Linked DNA regions of Homo sapiens: region 1 is linked to region 2. Evidence: promoter capture Hi-C in human tissues and cell types (Jung and others, 2019). All regions are on one chromosome and are shown on one strand. Each heading gives the region's core, a stretch centred on a gene start or on the middle of the fragment in contact. The rest is flanking DNA. Distances are from core to core; before and after follow the strand shown.

Evidence for each region. The method cuts DNA at HindIII sites, captures the fragments that hold promoters and counts their contacts. A contact is called where the count stands out against the background at its distance.
Region 1: a contact is called between a fragment that was not itself captured here and the fragment with the promoter of P2RY2 in region 2, in 1 of the 25 tissues and cell types used here (spleen).

The regions. Positions count from the first base shown.
Region 1 is chr11:72,021,389-72,025,114 of GRCh38, forward strand. It overlaps NUMA1 (nuclear mitotic apparatus protein 1), which reads right to left. Exons shown (of 27, transcript NM_006185.4): 5 at 2,886-2,965; 6 at 1,677-1,759; 7 at 951-1,031. Among named protein-coding and RNA genes, the nearest start is that of NUMA1-AS1, 9.0 kb to the left of the region's middle. The HindIII fragment of the contact is 4,192 bases long and covers 1-3,719 here.
Region 2 is chr11:73,216,517-73,220,117 of GRCh38, forward strand. It overlaps P2RY2 (purinergic receptor P2Y2), which reads left to right and starts at 1,765. Exons shown (of 3, transcript NM_002564.4): 1 at 1,765-1,916. LOC124902709 (a long non-coding RNA gene) reads right to left here and starts at 1,677. Exons shown (of 3, transcript XR_007062773.1): 1 at 1,511-1,677. RefSeq lists enhancers at 1,599-2,317, 2,318-3,036 and a silencer at 1,676-1,885. The HindIII fragment of the contact is 8,220 bases long and covers 1-3,601 here.

The sequences.
Region 1 (3,726 bases), core at 374-2,873, 1.2 Mb before region 2:
CTCATGCCCTAGGAGCCTGCTGGATCCCATTCTCCCTCTCAGAGCTGAGGTCCTATGACCCAGCCAACAACATTCAACTAGAGATATGTTCACCCCACTTGTCCCCTTCCCTCCCACCTCCCCTCAAGATGTACCGAAGTCAGAGTTCCTGACTGACTTAACTCCTGACCACAAGTGAAGTGACTGTTAAGGAAAGTAACACAATCAGAAAGTTGCTTTTATTGTTATTGTTGTTAAGAAACAAGATCTTGCTCTGTCACCCAGGCTGGAGTACAGTGGCACAATCATAGCTCACTATAACCTCCAACTCCTGGAGTCAACTCCTCCTCCTCAGCTCCCCAAGTAGCTAGAACTACAGACACACACTGCCACACCCAGCTCATTTTTTTTAAAAAAAATATTTTTTGTTGAGACAGGGTCTCGCTATGTTACCCAGGCTGATCTTGAACTCCTGGCCTCAAGCAATCCTCCTGTCTCGGCCTCCCAAAGTGCTGGGACTATAGGCGTGAGCCACCACGCCCGGCCAGGAAGCTTTTATATATAACTATGTTGGCCTCTTCCAGATGACCCTACCAGAGGAAAGGATGAGATAAATGAAGTGAAAGTTCTGTGGGGGAAAAAAAACACACACACACAGAAACACATATAGGAACAGAGAATAATTTCTACGTATTATCCTAAAACACATTACAGTTAAACATATGCACATAAAAAAGGACTTGAAAGTACATCCTTTAAAAAGTTAGCAAACTCTGGGAATGAGTTTATCGGCAACTGTTATTTCCTCCTGCATGCTTTTCAACGTTTCCCAGACTTTCTATGATGAATGGCAATAATTGCTATAACTGTATTTTTAAAAAGTCCAGTATCTGCTGTTCAAAGAAAAACAAGTCAGGTGAGGTGAAGCATGGGCTAGGCCTGCTAGGTGGCATGGAGGCACAAGGGCTTACCTGAATTTTATATTCAAACTGTTCCCAGTCCCTGGGACTTTTGGAGCTCATGGTAGAGTGGTATAAGAGCAGCATGGTCATCTAGAAGCCAAACAGGAGGCAGTCACTGAGTGGGGCTGTCTCTCTTCTCAGTGCCCCCATTCTGGGCTGTTCTGGGGACTCTGAGCTATTCCGGTGACTCTTCTAAAAGTCCTGGAATTCAGCAATCCCAGGCCACCATCCTTAACAGCTCCAGGAAACACTTTTTTTTTTTTTTTTTAATTAAGGATAGTGTACACTGTACAAAAAGCTGAGCGCCAAGATTCCTGCATGGCTCAATTCCTGGACTCATGGAACCCTGGGTGTGAAGCTTTAGGTACCCTCTATAGGCCAGCACCCAGAAAGAGCAGAGGGAATGACTTAAGACTGAGCTATAATAAAAATATGGTGATAGCCGAATGAGACCTGATTTCTGCCAGGTCTCCACCGAGGCCCACAGTAATGGTCTAGTAAACCATTGTTTGTTTCATAATCTCTGTCATAAGATCATGGGCTCCTAGAATCCTTGGGCTAAATTAGCCTCTGTCTCAAGACAGGTGGCTGCCTGGTTCTACCTCCAACGTACTAGAGCCCCAGAAATAAAGCACCCATCATCTCCCCTTGGGTTAAGAGAAGGCCCTGCAGGGTCCCTCAGGTACCATCACCCCAACCCTGCCCTGCCTCCCCAGTCTGGTATTCCATAGGTACCTTCGCCAGTTCCAGCTCTGATCCCTCTAGCACCTTCTGTGCAGATACCAGGCATTCTGGGGAAGAGGGATGTTTTCGATTTTCTGCAATGACAACAACGTAGAAAACAGGGTGAACTTCCTGGAAACCATACCTGAGATCCCAGAACACTGAAATCTGGGGAGCAGAATGGCTATCTCTGGTGGGGCTATGAGATGTAGGCCTCCTTACTCCTATGGCCTCTTTCCCCTGCCTTACAATTTTCCATCTGAAGTCAGTTCTATCCTGGGTCAATCCAAGGGCTACAGGGATAATGGAAGAAGAAAGCAGCCTCGGAATTCACAGCAACTCTGGGTCATGATGTTGCACTCTCCCACCCACTCACCAACTCTCAGCACCACAGAGGAAGAGCCCAGAGATGCCAGGTCACTTTAGAATCCTGTTCCAACTGAGGTCACAGAGTAAACCTATAGCTGAGTCAGAAAAGGACAACTAGGGATACGTGACTCTTATACTGCCCGAGGGTCTGGGCTCAAATTACTAACACCTTACTTTATCTAAATAAAGCCTCACCTTTCCTATAATTCTCTAGGGGTGGAGATGGCAGCTAGCTCCCCATGTCAAAGACGAGGACTCTGTGGTCTAAGGCTGGACAAGGGGAGGGGAACTGAAAAGCACTGTACTAGAAGCTTTGCATGTGTTCTTATTTAATCCACCCATCCACTTGAAGAGCAGTTATCTCCATATTATAGATAGGGAACCTATGTCCAGAAAGGTCACACAAGCAGTGAGGGGGGTCAAGATCAACCTTAATGTGCCTCTGCCCCTACACCTATCGCCTAAGCAATTAATTCAAAGTTATCTGGGAAAAACAGTTTTTCTTGCAAGGGAAAGAGACTCATTCTCTCTTCTGTCTCCTTGAAGTTCGGGGAAACAGAAACTTAAGGTGCTCAAAGAGTTAAAAGTGACAGGTCCCAAAAAGTAACCTTCTGGCTCCACCTAGATCTCCGAGAAGGGCTCTGGGACTGAAGGGACACTCTTCTTACACCAACTGATGAAGGCATCACAAGACCCAGGGGATCTGAACCAGCTGTTTTCATCTTTGTGTTAAAGAGTGGGGAGCCTTGAAATTTTTCTCCTCCAGACACCCATGAACTAGTTCCTCTGGACTCTCCAATCCCACGAGCTGAGGAAGCAGCTTCTTCATAGCTGGATAAGAAAGGTGCTTACTCTGCAGAAAACTGCACACAAAGTCCAGTCTCTCTGACACCGGCTGCTTCAAGATTTGCTGTCCCTCTTCAGTGCCATGGCTAGAAAAAGAGCAAGTATTAGGACCAGAGTATTCAGCAATCTTTGCCTCCTTGCTGCTGCATTTCATAGTACCTCCCCATTCCTTCCAGTCTTGATCTCTGCTGGATCTGGAAGAGATCCAGATCAGATCCTGGAGGCAGGTGACAGATACCAGGACACCATTTATCCAGATGGAACTGTGTGGTGGGTGGGAAGAGGGGACTTGAGGCATGGGGTTCTTCTGGAAAAGATGGCACTCTGCCACCCTATTTGCAAACATAAAAAAGCTCTGTGGAAAGGGGCCGAGAGGAGACGGAGGCAGCACAGATGAACGGGAAGCTATATTACACCATCTGGAATGGCTCAACTCTAAACTGTCAGGAAGCCTGGAGAACACACCTAGGTTAAGAGTGAGAGAAGACCATGGGGAGGGAAAAACATCCAAGAACTGAAAGAACAGGAGGAAACAAGGCTCTGAAGTGACAGGGTGAAGTTCCCCCACTAGGCTGAAGGCTGAGATGGCAAAAGCCTCCCAGAGGAGGATCCCAGGGACTAGAGTGTTGTTTGTTTGTTTGTTTGTTTGAGACAGAATCTCGCTCTGTTGCCCAGGCTGGAGTGCAGTGGCACGATCTCGGCTCACTATAACCTCTGACTCCTGGGTTCAAGCAATCCTCCTGCCTCAGCCTCCCAAGTAGCTGGGATTACAGGCATGGACCACCACGCCCGGCTAATTTTTGTATTTTTAGTAGAGATGGGGTTTCGCCATGTTGGCCAGGCTGGT
Region 2 (3,601 bases), core at 515-3,014:
GGGACATAGAGACTGTAGTGTGCTGTGATCATGCCACTGCACTACGGCCTGGGTGACAGAGTGAGGCCCTTTCTCAAAAAATTTAAGACAGGCCAGCAAGTGAGAGATTAGTATTACTCCCTTTTGCAAAAGAGGAAACTCAGGCTCAGAGAGGAGTCATAGGACAGGTGAGGTAAGACTGGAATCTAAACCCAAGGCTATGGGGTTCAAGGACTAGGCCCCTTCCTCTGCTCCTCAAGCCTCACTAAGTCACCTGTGTGGTAGCTGAAACGCTGTATGTCTCAGGAATGCAGTTTCCTCAGCTGTAAAGTAAGGGAATTGGGCCAGAGCAGGGGCAGAGCCCTGGGCAGGCCACCAACCAGATTTGCCCGCTGAAGGCTAAGGTCGAGCCTGGGTCCTCAACTTGGCGTCAAAGAAACTTGTTTCTCCTGGGCTAAATGGCAGTGACAGTATAAGGTTTGAAGTTTTGGAAGAGGGGAGAGAAAGAGAGGGTTGGCTGGAGTTCCAGTGCCCAAAGGGTCTTCCCCACACTGGAACCTGAAGGCCTAGGCCCTATAACTCGGGCTATGAGGATACTTAGGTCCCTGGAAGGTGCGTGGCCCAGCTTAGACAATAGGCGCAGGAGGCTAGACAAGGGGCCTTTGTGTCTCCCAAGCAAAGGCCCCAGCAGGACTGCAGAGGCGGCTCAGCCACTATGGGCTGTGTGTCCACTCTGCTACTGCTCCTGGTGGGGCTGCAGCCAGCACCCTTCCTGGCAGCCAGGCCCAGTCAGCTGATATGGAGCCCAAGAGGGCCCAAGGCCCCGAAGGCCCGGGGCAAGTTCCTTGGCTACAGGAAGAGGCCTCCTCTGCACTTGTCCAGCCAGCGGAGCGATTGGCTCCATTTCACAGGAAAGAAGACCCTGCCAGGGAATGGAACTGGGTCAAGGTCTCCCAGAGTCAGTGCTGAAGCCAGACAGGAACCTACACTCCTGATTCCTAGACCAGAAATGAGAGAGAGGCGGGGTGCTCATTCATTCATCCATTCACACCTTCAAGGATTGAGCACCTCCCAGGACCTCTAGGACAGCAGCAGGAAGAAGGCAGACCTGGTTCCTGCCCTCGGGAGCTCACAGTCTCCGAACGGGTCAGACATGCAGCCGGTAGCCCGACCAGGGAAGGCCATTAGAGTGGGGTTGACGACAGAGAAGAGAGGTAAAGCAGCTCAAGATAAGGGGCCAGAGTGGGGAGTTCAGGGAGCTGCTGATAAGATTAAGGCAGGGAAAGTGGGGAGCACGGGAGAGGCGGGATCCTGAGTACCCTGCTTTCCTAACCACGGTAATGGAGAGAGGCACCCCCTTCCCCCACTTTCAAGCAAGGGAGGTACGTCCTTAGCCTGGGGTTCCGAGCAGGTATCTCCCAGTAGGTCCCTTCCTGGCCAGCCGGGCTGGGGCAGGGGCGGGACAGGGGTAGGGTGGCGCGGTGGCTGGGCGCAAAGGTCCCGCAGTGGGCCACGCAGGCACCGGGCTGACCTGGCAAAACTTTGGCGTCTCTGAAAACCTCTGGTAACCAGCTCCCTTCTAGCGTGAGGGAGCCGGGAGGCCTCCTTCTGGCCCGGCAGTGAGAGCGTCGCCGCCCGACCCTCCCGTTGCAGCACCGGTACAGACACGCTGACCCCGCGGCCTTGTCGCTGGGCGGCGTCCCGGAGCGGGTGGCGCGGTGTCTACCCGGGCGGGTTGAGGGCGGTGCCAGGGTCAGTCAAAAGTCCGCCCCGCCCCCTGCCTGGCCCGGCTTCGGGGTTGGGGAACAGCGCAGGGAGGTGGGTAGCCGGGCTCCCAGGCACGTGGGTCTCTGCGGCTGCGGCGGGACCCGGGCACTGGCACCCGGGAGCGGCGGCGACGGCACCCTGAGAGGAGAAGCGCAGCGCAGTGGCGAGAGGTGGGGTGGGGCGTCTGGAGGGAACAAGGCGCTGGGAGAGGCCCGGGGAAGCGGCGGGCCAGACTGGCGCAGGTGCGGACTGGGCGCGGGGCAGGGGAGGGCGCTGTGGAGCGGCTGTCGCCCCGGGGCACAGTTGCGAGCCGGCGTGTAGCGCATAACTGGACGGCTTGAACGCGCCTGTGGGTCCGTGGTTGAACTTTGTCTCCACGGGAGCGTCGGTCTCGGTGAGTGTGGACGGGCGCCCCAGTAGTGAGGCTGTGCGCGTCAGCGTACTGGGGAGGTCTGCGTGTTAGCGGGTGAGTGTGTGCGCCCCTCGGGGCGACTGGCCAAGCCTGCGGAACTTGTCTGTGTGTGCTCCGATGTGAGCGTCCCCGTGGCGTGAGGCGGTGGCCGGTGCCCAGAGACGCGAACCCCTGGAGACCCCCTACCACTGTCCTAACCCCAGGGTCACTCTGGGTGGCCACCTACCATTGGTAATGTTGAGGGGGCAGTTGCAGGGAGTGGGCGGGGGAGGAGGGAGTGGCCAGAAAGGACAGTTAAGCCTCTGTCCCCGGGCTTTTAATCTGGCAAATGGTGCGGTAGAAAGGGTCAGTCAGGAGAAAGGCGATACCCCACCCCCCAACCCGAAGGCTGCCAGTGGCCCTCTTGGGGTCCTCCAGGAGCGCAGCCCAAGGGTTGGGGACTGCTGGAGACCAGAATTGCCAGCTCGGGATTTGTGGGGTCCATGGCTGCTGTTCCTCTCAGCATGGCATCCCCAGCTTCCCAGGACCACAGCCTGATCTGCCTGGTTTGTTTTGGATCTAAGCTGAAATAATTATGAGTTTTGAGGATCTGGGTGGAGACCCAGGCAAGTTTATTACCTGTGGGTGGAAGTGGAAGGAAGAAGATTCTCTGAGCAGACAGGTCCACAAGAGAGCTCTGGAGACTCAGAGATCTATGTTCCAATCCTGTCTTGGCCACTGTGTGGCCTGGGCAAGCCGTCCTTTCTCTGAGCCTCAGTGGCCTCGTCTGTAAGAAGGGACTAATGATAAGGAATTTGAGGGCTGTTGAGGAGCTGATGAGTGTGTCATGTTCAGCACCAGTGTCCCCCCATGGGCAGGCTCACAGCTTGGGGATGGGAAGTCAGTCCCTGGAAGGAGCCTCCCAGAACCAGAATCCCAACTGTGCCCCTCCCTAGGGCACAAGCCTTCCACAGGACCAAGCCTGAACCCTGTAGCCTGGGACTTAAGGTATTTGATAACTGGGGCCTGCCAGCCTTTCCAGCCACCTCTCCCGCCTGACTCTTTACCTTGCAGCAGCTGCCTGGAGTCTCTCATTTCTTGCCCCTGGCCTGTTGCATATTCTACACTCCCTCTCTGATAAGCCCTCCTACTCTCACCTTCCTCAACTGGAGAACTACCCAGACTTGGGACCCAGCTCAGATGTCCTCTCCTCTGGAAAGCCTTCCTTGATCCCTACAGCTGGGTTGGAGCCTCTTCTAGGCCCCTACAGGCCTGGGGCTGACAGCCCTGGTCCCACCTGAACCGTCATGATCTATGTCTGTCTCCTCCTTTCCTCTTCCCAGGTCTAGGGGCTCCTGGAGGGCAGAAACTGGGTCTTATTATTTCTGTGTTGCCAGCACCCTGCACAGGGCTGAGCTGAACTGAGAGAGCAGCAGTGGCGCCCATCCCCTGTCTCTGGCACCA